Linked DNA regions of Homo sapiens: region 2 is linked to region 1. Evidence: promoter capture Hi-C in 16 types of primary human blood cells and fetal thymus (Javierre and others, 2016). All regions are on one chromosome and are shown on one strand. The core of a region is centred on a gene start or on the middle of the fragment in contact, and the rest is flanking DNA. Distances in the headings are between cores, read along the strand shown.

Evidence for each region. Contacts are between HindIII fragments. The CHiCAGO score rates a contact against its expected background, and 5 or more counts as called.
Region 2: a fragment that was not itself captured here is called in contact with the fragment with the promoter of PAQR8 in region 1 in 3 of 17 cell types (non-activated CD4 T cells, activated CD4 T cells and naive CD8 T cells); the score reaches 7.2 in non-activated CD4 T cells.

The regions. Positions count from the first base shown.
Region 1 is chr6:52,359,247-52,364,940 of GRCh38, forward strand. PAQR8 (progestin and adipoQ receptor family member 8) reads left to right here and starts at 2,905. Exons shown (of 2, transcript NM_133367.5): 1 at 2,905-3,003. RefSeq lists silencers at 2,309-2,494, 2,668-3,157. The HindIII fragment of the contact is 8,624 bases long and covers 1-5,694 here.
Region 2 is chr6:52,309,197-52,314,890 of GRCh38, forward strand. No RefSeq gene overlaps it. Among named protein-coding and RNA genes, the nearest start is that of MCM3, 27 kb to the left of the region's middle. RefSeq lists a silencer at 1,097-1,166. The HindIII fragment of the contact is 1,829 bases long and covers 2,009-3,837 here.

The sequences.
Region 1 (5,694 bases), core at 1,655-4,154:
AAGGAAGAAGAAAAGTTAAGTTACCTACTGAAGGCTCTTACTCCCAAGGCCACACTTTTAACCACTATGCAAAGTGCCTCTCCTTTTCTCTGACAAGATAGTGAAGAAATTAATAGTCCTCAGTCCTTTCATAAGATATAAAAAGAAAACAAAAATAGTACAGCTTTTAAATAACTCTTCACTGTAGCAGTTTTCACAAACAGGTCTACTTTTAGTATAAACCAGTATATATACCAGAATGTTCCAGGCAAGTGGTTTTAACTATTTCACACTTCCATTTCTCCATGTTACAATAAGACTACCAGTTTTTACCCCTTTCCTACTTCATATAAGTGTATGAAGTTGAGTAATATGATGTCATCAAACATACTTTGAGCTTCTTGGAAAAGTGATATGTAAACACAAAGTAGAGTGTTTATAAAAACAGTGTCAATGTGGTATGTATCCAATGTAAAATAGATCAAATTATTTTATTAGAGATTCGGACAAAAATAACTCTTTAATCTTATCTATTTTTTCATCATTTTGCATACTGCCTGTGTCTGTGGCTTTCAAGGGCAATCTGAAAGGGAACTAGGTCTGATACGTGTTGATTGGATTCGCAGTTTAGCATTCTCCTTATTGAGGAAATACTGCAGTACCCAAGATCTTGGCTGTTTCCAGGTTTTGGAAAAATCTCAGGTCAAAATTGTGTTGCCAGATGGGATTATTACATAGAGGAAAGTTGGCTGTGAATTTCCATATACCAAAGGCCATCCTAACTGTCTTTTATGAAGGACCCAACAGGCTTTTATTATAATTCAAAAATAGCCAGGTCACCCTAGGACTTTTTCCAGTGTTACCAAAACATCACTTTTACTGCCCAAACGGAAGTAGGCCATTACCTCACAGTAGAAAATAAAAGAAGCTAGCTTGAGACCAAGGTAGTTTTAAAAGGCATGAAGGATGAGAACCACCATTCTTATTTAGTGGCTCTGGACAGCGTCACTTGGAAACAGAACTGCCTCATGCACAGATAACAATGCCTGACACCCATTACACTTTACATGCACGTTCACATCTGCCTTTTGGATAAAGGGCAAGAAGAAAGGAACATTTACCATTGAGAAAGAATTAGAAGCCTTGTTAGTCTCCTTTTAAGACTTCTTCACATTCCACATGGATTAACTGTTAGGGAGAAAAACACTGCAAAAATAATCAGCAATGCATTTCGGAGGCTCATCAGCTCCCGGCTGACAGCTCACGTTAGTTGGATGAAGGCTGTGGATAGGCTTTTAGATGTGCTAACCTGTAATTTTGTTTCTAGAGTGGCCCAAAGTGGAAGGAGTTTTCACTCCCTCTCAATAAGCCCTCTTGTACGGTTGTGACCTCTGGCCTATCATAGGTTTTTGACGATAAAGGAGAGCCCGGGTTTTTGAGGTTAAGGGAGAGTTCCCTGACATCTTTGGGGTGAAGAAGAGATGGAGGGAGCAAAGCTGCCAAAGACCTCCTGTGACATTTCCACTAGTATCCACCTATAAGTAAGTGCTGGACTATGATTCCCTGGGGAGATCAGTGGCTCTAAAGACAGGCCCCTGGGCTCTTTCCTGGCTCTGACTCAGCTTCAAACCTGCCGTGCAACTGCTCAGAGTCTAAATGTCTTCATTTATGGAACTGAAATAATCCTGCTAAGATTACTTTCTTTGCTTCGTGATGTTTGCCTGAGAATAAGTAGCTGGGACTACAGGCGTGTGCCACCACGCCCATCTAATTTTTGTATTTTTTGCAGAGACAGGGTCTCACCTTGTTACCCAGGCTGGTCTCGAACTCCTGGGCTTAAGCAATCTGCCCACTTTGGCTTCCCAAAGTTCTGGGATTACAGGTGTGAACCATCACACTCGGCTAAAATGTTTTGAAAAATGGAAACATTGTACAAATGTGAGATGTTGTGCAACATGTCACTGAAACACGGTGGTATAAGAGAAGTTTTGGGAACCAGCAGACCAGAATTAGGCCTGAGAAAATCTTACAGTAAGCAGACCAGAATTAGGCCGTCTGAGAAAATCTTACAGTAAGCAGACCAGAATTAGGCCTGTCTGACAAAATCTTACAGTAAGCAGGCCATCTTCCCAGGCCTTCTCTTTTCTCCAGATAATGAAGAAGGCTTTTTAAAAGCAAAGCCAACTTGATTTGTTAATTGATCATCCAACTTCTTAACTGTCTTTTTCTCATGGTAAAATACCGAGAACATTGTGGGTGAGGAGCAAGTCGGGAGGTGGAACCCACCCCCGCACCCTGCCTCCAATAGATTGTATGTGTGGGTCGCTATTGCTGGGACCCACGAAGGCTGTGGATTGAGGACACAGGGTAGAAGTGGGATCTTCTGCAGGTCAGTGTCAGATGTGTCTGTGTGATGTAGTCATGGGAGAGGCGCGAGTCTTGGGCGGGTGTATCTTAGGGGTGTGGAAGTGTCTGCAAGGGCCTCCGTGGTATGTCATCACATTATTTATATCATGGGCATGACCCTGAACGTTCACCCGAGAGTGGTGAGAGAAAGGCCAGGATTTAAATCAGTCTTGACAGCGCAGATGAAGTTTGTTATTGTTTTCCGCCCTTCCCGAGGGACTTCGGAAATGGCCCCCTGAGAGGTGAATTCTTGGAAAGAATATGAGGGCGGTTAAGGCGTCTCTGTCTCAAACTCTCCGGATTTTTTGCAGCTACCAGGGACTGCGAGGGTCTGCGTCCTGGGTGGAAGGAAGCGGCGTCAGTCAACTTCCTCGCAGCGGCGGCAGCGGCGCGGGCTGCAGCGGAGCGCGCGGGTCTGCGCATCCCGCCCCCGGGTCGGGAAGGGGCGGAGCTGGGCGTCACCCGCCCCCGGCGGTCTCCTCCTCCCGGCCGCTCCCCCGAGCCGAGCCCGCCGCGGTCACAGCCACCCGCGGGAAGCTCGTGGCCGGGACCCCGAGGCGGGAGCGCGGGCTGGGCCGGGCTGGGCTACGCGCACGGGCTCGGCCGCCGCCCCTGCCGGTGAGTCCCGCCGCGGGAGGCGCGGAACGGGTCGAGTTGGGTATTGGGACCGCGAGGTCGGGGAGCCCCGGGGCCCGAGCTCGGGAGGCGGGGACGTCAGGATCGCGGCGTTGGGGAGTCCTCGCACCCCGAGCTCAGAGGGGAGGTCCAGAGTCGCAGCGTTGGGAACCTGAGGCCAGGGGCCGGAGTTTAGGGCCCCGATGTTGAGTCTCCGAATCCAAGCCCGGAAGGGGGGACGACGGGTTAGGATGCTGGGGAGCCCTGGAGCTCTGAACGGCTGTAGTGGGGTGGCCAGGACTGCGATGCTGGGGAGTCATGGAGCCTGAGCCTGGAGAGCTGGCGGGGGTGTGGGGACCGCGATGTTGGGAAGGCTGAGCCCGGAGGGCGGGAGATTCAGGACCAAGACGTGGGGGAGTCCGACAGGGCAGAACGAGGGGCGTCCTGTCCGCATTTGTGGGGCGCCCTCCGCAGGGCGGAGGGGAACGGAACCTGGGAGGGGAGTGCGGAGGAGAGGAAGCCCGGGGCGGTAGGGAGAGCCCGAGGAAGGGCAGCCCGAGGTAGGGGAACCCCGGAAAGAGTAGGGTGGGTCTAGGCATGTGCTTTCGCCGGGGAAAGATGGAGGGGGCTTCTCTGAGAGGGTGGGCGCGAGGAGCGGAGTTGTGATGGGAACCGCCGGCAGCTGGCTAATGGGCGGATGCTGGGGCTTGGCTGGATGGGAACGCCGCGGTGGGGTGTCGGAGGTGGCTGGTGGGGCTGGAACGCTGGGAACGTCTGTCTAGGCTATGAGAACGCAGCGCCCTCGGTGGAACAGGGTCGTAGATAACTCGAGAGGGAATCTAGTCTAGGGAGCAAGACCGGGCATCCCCAGACGGAGGCGGGTGGGGACCTCGCACTCAGCGCGCTTGGGGAATATTCGGAGCCTGGGTTTGGGGGCTGCTGCACCTTGCCGACCCGGTGCGGGGACCTGGAGGTAGCCGGGCACAGCAGCTTCCTGTGCAGCTGTGGGTGCTCCAGGCACTGGCAGACTAGTGGGAAGTCCAGGAGCCTTGGCAGGCTCATTGTCTTGACCTAAGTTGCATTCCATATTTCTTAGCTGGGTTAGAAATGATTTTGTCCAGGAACCCAATGAGAAGAGCCTGGGCTAAAAAAATTAGTTATGGAGTGAGATTTCAAATGTACAGGTAATACCTACCCGTGTGTGTGCGCGCCTTAGGGATAACTCATACAATACACTGTATGTGTGATTTTTAGACCCACGTGTGTACTACTTGTTCCAGTACTCTGAGAAGCTGTTTCTGGGTAAAAACGAGGAAAATCCACAACAAATACACACACCAAACAATGTCCACAAACGCACTGCATTCCAGTCGAGTTAAACATGAGAGTATTGTACAGTTTGGGAGTATTTGCTTGTCAGTGAAGACTCCTGTTACTGAAGTTAATAGGAGTTGCCTGCATGGAAGGTAGACTGCCCTTGACTGCCCTGTTAAGGTTATCCACAACGTGTACCCAGCCCTGAGCTGCTGCACCCTTGACCAGGTCAACTGGAAGGGAGCCAGACTGCTTAGGACCTCAGTGGATGAGTATCCAAGTGTGTATCTAAAAACAAAGGACCAAGGCATGGCTTTGTTTTTGTTTTTGTTTTTTATTTCTGCTGTTTGTCCTTGGGTGCGTGTCCTTCAATTATTAGTTAAATGTTGACTATCTTACATTAACCCATCTTGTATTGTTAATTATGTATGGTAATTATTTCAGTTATTTGGCGTAACAACCAATTCTGGAAGACCCAGAGTAGAGGAATCTTATTAAGTGGATATATCCATTGAAAGATATGTTTTTTTTTTTTTTTTTTTTGCGGGTGTGTGTATGCACCAGATTTCCTTCTGGTGCATATAGGTCCATCTTCTGACACACACTGAGATTTGAGCTTCATTGGATAAACAAGGATTATTTTGGCAACTAGCATTTGTTGGGTCTGTTTTTAATTCATGAAAAGGAAATCTTTAATAATTATGCAAGTTAACAGGATAGAAAGCGATTTATTCATTTTACAAGAATCATTTCAGGATAAGCATATTTCCATTAAGGGTGTGTGTATACCTTATTGAGTGGTCAGGACCTTGCATCAAAATCTGCACTATCATTCCTGCAGCAGTGTACTTATTCACTTGGACGTAACACTTGCTGATGCTTCCAATTCTTTATCCAAATGTTAAAATAAATATGCCAGTATTTATACATTCAAATCAGTATTTCTCCCCTTCAAAAGCCTGCTCTTGGCAAGCTGTGTACTAATTCTAGTGATGCTGTCACTACTGAGAATAATTTTGGAGCTCCTGCTTTGGAGTTGCCTTCCGAGTTTGCAACACATTTCCTGATTGCCTCAGTGGTGGCAAACCTTCCTCAGCTGGGAAACAGCCAGGCACTGTGCGGGGCCAACTTGGGCTTCCGAGGTGGGGAATCGAGGTTGTCAATAAGTATGCTCATTAAAGTAATGAAAATTCTCTTGAAAGACTGGCAGTTCTAAAAGGGGCATTTAGTAATGGCATGGAGTATGTATTTAGGATTGGAAGGAATTACAGTTGGTCCCTGAATAACACCGGGGTTAGGGGCTCCCATCATCTCCACAGTGGAAATTTTGAGTACAACATTTAACTCCTCAAAAACTTAACTACTTTGAAGCACAACCTT
Region 2 (5,694 bases), core at 1,673-4,172, 50 kb before region 1:
AATCATAGCTCACTGCAGCCTTGAACTCCTGGGTTCAAGCAATCCTCCCACCTGAACCTCCCAAGTAGCTAGGACTACAGGTGCATGCCATTGCACATGGCTAATTTTATATTTTTTTGTAGAGATGGGGTCTTGCTCTGTTGCCTAGGCTGGTCTCAAACTTCTGGCCTCAAGCAGTCCCCTACCACCACGTCCCAAAGTGTTGGGATTACAGGTGTGAGCCACCGTGCCCAGCCTGGAGGTGACCTTTAAGCTGAGATCTGAATAGTGAGACGGACCTGGACTAAGTGTATCTGGAGAAGAGTGCTCTATGCAGGAGGAACAGCAACTGCCTTAATATTGATGACTCTTTGTACCATTAGGGATGAGTATCTGAACACCTTCTAAGAGTTAGGTGGTATACTGCTTTTTGTTTTTTAGTTTTTTTGAGACGGAGTTTTGCTCTTGTTGCTCAGGCTGGAGTGCAGTGGCACGGTCTCGGCTCATTGTAACCTACACCTCCTGGGTTCAAGCGATTCTCCTGCCTCAGCTTCCCAAGTAGCTGGGACTACAGGCGCATGCCACCACGCCCAGCTAATTTTTTGTATTTTTAGTAGAGACGGGGTTTCACCGTGTTAGCGAGGATGGTCTTGATGTCCTGACCTCATGATCCACCCGCTTCAGCCTCCCAAAGTGCTGGTATTACAGGCATGAGCCACCGCGTCCGGCCTACTGTTTTTATATCTAAGTAGCATGGTCCATGATGGTCAAGGCCATTTATAATGGGGTTATGCATCTTACCTAACTGACCCAATGACTATGTCTATAATGTAGCAATCCTTTCCTTTAATAGAGCCGAGACCCTCTCCCCAATATCCAACATTCATCCCTGCCTCTGATTTTCTTTTTGCTCTTCTCTGACCTAAAATACTATTTCTCTCTTTTGTCCTTCAAGGTTTAAAGTTCTATCTCCCCCATTAAGAAAGATTATTCAGTTGGAGCTGTTTAGTACCTTGACTGTAATAGTGGATAGGTAACACTACATAAGTGATACAATTGTATAAAACTTAATACATACACACACACACACGAATACAAGTAAAACTGGGGAAATTGGAACAACATCAGTGAGTGTGTCAATGCCAATATCCTGATGGTACTATCATACTACAGTTTTACAAAATGTAACCACTAGGGACACTGAGCTAAGTGTACAGGGGAGCTCGCTGTATTACTTCTTTTTTTTTTTTTTTTTTTGAGACGAAGTCTTGCTCTGTTGCCAGGCTAGAGTGCAATGGCACAATGATCTTGACTCACTGTAATTTCTGCCTCCCAGGTTCAAGCGATTCTCCTGCCTCAGCCTCCTGGGTAGCTGGGATTACAGGTGCATGCCACCACACTCAGCTAATTTTTCTATATTTAGTAGAGACGGGGTTTCATCATGTTGGCCAGGTTGGTCTCGATCTCCTGACCTTGTGATCTTCCCACCTCGGCCTCCCAAAGTGCTGGGATTACAGGCATAAGCCACTGTGTCTGGCCTCTGTACTATTTCTTATAAGCATGTGTAAATCTGTAATTACATCAAATTTTTAAAATGAATAACCAAAAAATTATATTTCTCATAGAAACAGTCTTATTATTTTTTATTAATTTTTTTACAAAATAGATTTTTCAACTGGTTCATGAAAATGAGCAAAATGTATTGTCTAAATAAAGCCATACCAATTTTTCACCTTATGAGAAATGGAAGTTAGGTTCATTTGGAATAATCTCTTCTCAATGAAAACTTGTTGGTGCCTAGCAATGACTTCCCTTTTTTTATGTTTATAGGATGCCCTTCAAGAACTTTGCCCAGGACTCTGGCATCTATGGTTTGCAGAATCAACCTTCTTCCCCTTTTCACAAAATGGAATAGTGTGTACCCAGCCACAGTCTTCTGGCGTCTCTCCCCGGCCCCACAGTCCCTGAAAAGCTGCCAACAGTCTTCTCATATATAAATTCTGTTGGTACCCCAGCCGGAATTTGTCCAAGCTTGGAGACATAAGCTCATTGAAAGCTAGGCATTCTCATACAATACCCCATTTATTTTGTGCCTCAATGTCTTCCTGCTGATATTTGTATGAAGAACATTCAACTTTAGAAAAGTTGGAACAGGGAAGCTGGTGTTTAGAGGTGGAAGCCAGTAAGTTCCGGGTGCAAATCCAGATTCTTTCATTCTCCAAAGGTCTGATCTTGGGCTAGGTTATCCAATTCTTTGAACTTCAGTTTGCTAATCTGTAAGATGGGAATAATAATCGCTATTATTATTACTATTAGGTTTCAGGTTGTAGTGAAGATTGAATAAGATAATATTTGTAAAAATGCAGAGCACGAATGGATAGTAACAACAAAGCAGGTGAGATGAACAGATCTGCTTCCTCATAGATATGGGGATTAATGGGATTTCAGAGTTGGAGAGCACTAGAGAAGTCACCCAGTCCTACCTCCTGCTCAGCGAGAGTGGTACTCATGAGCCAGCACATTTCAGCATGAACCAGCTTCTCCCTGTCACCTATCACCATCCCATTCGCTCCTCAACAACATGCCTGTACCTTCCATCCCCCATCAAAACCTTTAGAAGGCCTTTTCTCTGTGCCAGTACTTTAAACCCTTTATCTCATTAATCCTTACAACAACCCTGTGATACGTTTTTAATGTTCCTTTTACAGCTATGGAAACTGAGGCTCAGAGATATTAAGTAACTTATCGAAGGCTACACAGTTAATAAACAGGATTCAGCCCAGGTCTGTCTGTAACCAATGCTCCTACTCTTTTCTGCAATATTACATGGCCTTTAAAAAAAAAATTCTTATTTTTCTCAAACAGCTCATTCTTGGCTTTATCCATTTTGTCAGCTGTCCTGAAAGTCCCTCTTTTAGGTGTCCGTCTTTTAGGTGTATCCTTCTGCTATGCACTAAATAGTGTCCACTGAAAATTCATATGTTGCAATGAACTTTAATCCCCAATGTGATGGTCTATGGAGATGGGGCCTTTGGGAGGTACTTAGGATTAGATGAAGTCTGACAGCGGGACTGTCACACTGAAGTCAGTGCCCTCATAAGAAGAGGCACCAGAGAGCTCACTCCACCATAGCCCCAGCACACAAACAGGAGGTCATGTGAGTAAACAGTAATGGCAGCCTCCTACAAGCCAAGAGAAGAGGCCTCAGGATGAGACCTGCCTTGCCAGCACCTTGATCTTGGACTTCCCAGCCTACCGAACTGTAAGAAATAAATTTCTGTGCCTTAAGCCATCGAAAAGTCTATGGCATTTTGTTATGACAGCCTGAGCAGACTAAGCCACCTTCATTGCATCTACATTCTCTTTTCTCAATGCGGCATTTTTCAAATCTGAGCTGACTAATGAGTTTGCATTTCAGCTTGATGGGTCTCTCCAGCTCTCAATTTCCTGCCTTCCCCATTGTTCATTGTATCCTCAGTGTTCAGTTTTTGACAGTTCTCTTATTCTCTGGAGACATCCTCCTGTTTAGTGTCTCAGGCCATGTAATCAGATCTGTGATTTTTCCCTGAATGGTTTGACATTTGCCTTCATAACATCTGACAGTGTCCATTCTTGTGTACTCCAAACTTTGAAAAGATACAGGTCTGCTCAGTTCTGGGGCATAGTGAAAAAAAGAAAGAAGGCATGGATACTTTTACCTAGGCTTCTAGTCCTTCAAGTTGACCCCATTAGTTTCTGCTTGGAGAAACTTTGGGGTCCAAGTTATGCCCAGACTACAGTGTCCCCTTACTTCCTCTGCTTCCTAGGAGCTGCAGTTCTTGGCCAGGCAAATCAACAGGTTAACAGATATGACGCGTAAGCTTTCCTGCCCTTACTGATACCTCCTCTCCCCGAATTGCTCTAGCATTTGTTGTTTATTCCTTCCAGTTTAGCCCTTGATTGCTGGGCCTTGTATCCATTAGGCAAAGTGCTCAGGACCTACATTTCTTCTATTTTTAATTGGCTCTTATTGGCAAATCTGGAATCAGGCAACATCTCATTCTACAAAATAGAATGAGTATTCCTGGACCTACAGTTCTTTCTAGGTCCACAAAAATGTCTGAGACTTTCAGGGATGAGGGGAGAATGACATTAAAAAAAAAAGTTTGCAAAATCAAAATTAATATATGTATCTTTAAATGTCCATAAATTTAACATGATGAAAATTAATTAACTGCAACTCAATTCTACTCTAATTATGTGGTGATATACGTGGTGTTTGATGTAAAATGTGGGTTCAATATATTTTGTACTATGTGGGGGTAGCAGAGCCTCTGAGATTAGAAATGCCTGGGACCTACTGGAGTCTTAAAACTGCTCTGCTTGATTGTTTTACTCTATGCTTTGTTCTAATTTCTTACATCATTCTTGATGATTTAGTAGCATCATGCTACTAAATAGGTAGTCAAATCCTTTAACATATTGCTATACCATGTGTTAAGTACTGTGTTCAGTACTTAGGGTGGGAGTGAGGGGTGATTCACAAAAGATAAAATGGGGGCCCTGGGCCTAAGGAGTTCAAAGTCTAGTTGGTAAGAAGCAGCTTTATCTTTCCCCACTTTCCTTTGCCTCCCCTCGCTTCTTTCAGTTCTTCAAATTCACTGAGTTTCTTCCTTCCTACCCCAGGACCTTTGCAGATGCTGTTCCTTGGAATACTTTTCCTGCTACCATTTGCTCAACTTCCTAACTCCTATCCATTCTTCATTTTAAATGTCACTCCCACTGGGCACAGTGGCTCATGCCTGTAATCCCAGCACTTTGGGAGGCCGAGGTGGGCGGATCACGAGGTCAAGAGTTCGAGACGAACCTGGCCAATATGGTGAAACCCCCGTCTCTACTAAAAATACAAAAAAAAAAAAAAAATTAGCCAGGCCTGGTGGCGGGTGCCTGTAGTCCCAGCTACGTGGGAGGCTAAGGCAGGAGAATCGCTTGAACCCGGGAGATGGAGGTTGCAGTGAGCCAAGATCTTGCCACTGCACTCCAGTCTGGGCGACAGAGCAAGACTCTGTCTCAAAAAAAATAAAAATAAAATAAAAATAAATGCCACTCCCTTAGAGACTTTCCCTGACAACACCCTGCCTTCACCCGCTAACCCATCTAATTTAGGTTCTACCTGCTATTCTTTCATAGCTTCCAAATGTTTTTGGTTTTGCCTTTGTAGCCCTTAGCATTTGGAATTACTTTACGCTTGCTTATTTATTTACAGTTTATCCTGCCTCACTTAAGGGTAGAATGAGGGTAGAGAAAAGGTTGGTTTTGTTCACTGCTGTCTATCAAGTGCTGATCACATCGTCTGGCAGACAGTAAGTGTTCATTAAGCATTTGTTTAATAAACAAAAAAGGAAGGGCACACACTCTTAAAGCAGTTAAATAGCAATGTGAAAATGCCTAGGATGAAAAGGAAATCAGAAGCAAGATATGGATATATAAGGGAGGGGTTGGGAGAGTTTCAATGGAGAGGAAGGATGGCTGGGACCTGGATAGATGGAAAGGAGGAGGCTGGGCATGCTGAGTTGGAGGCAACAGCGTGAGGAAGAGCCTGGATTGCTGGTCTGGGAACAGTTGAAACACTGGCCTGGCTGCCTGATTCACTCTCCCGGGTGGTAGAAGACCACATCAGACAAGTAGGTTCAGGCCATATTGTGGAGGGCCTTGAAAGCTGTCCTAACAGAAATG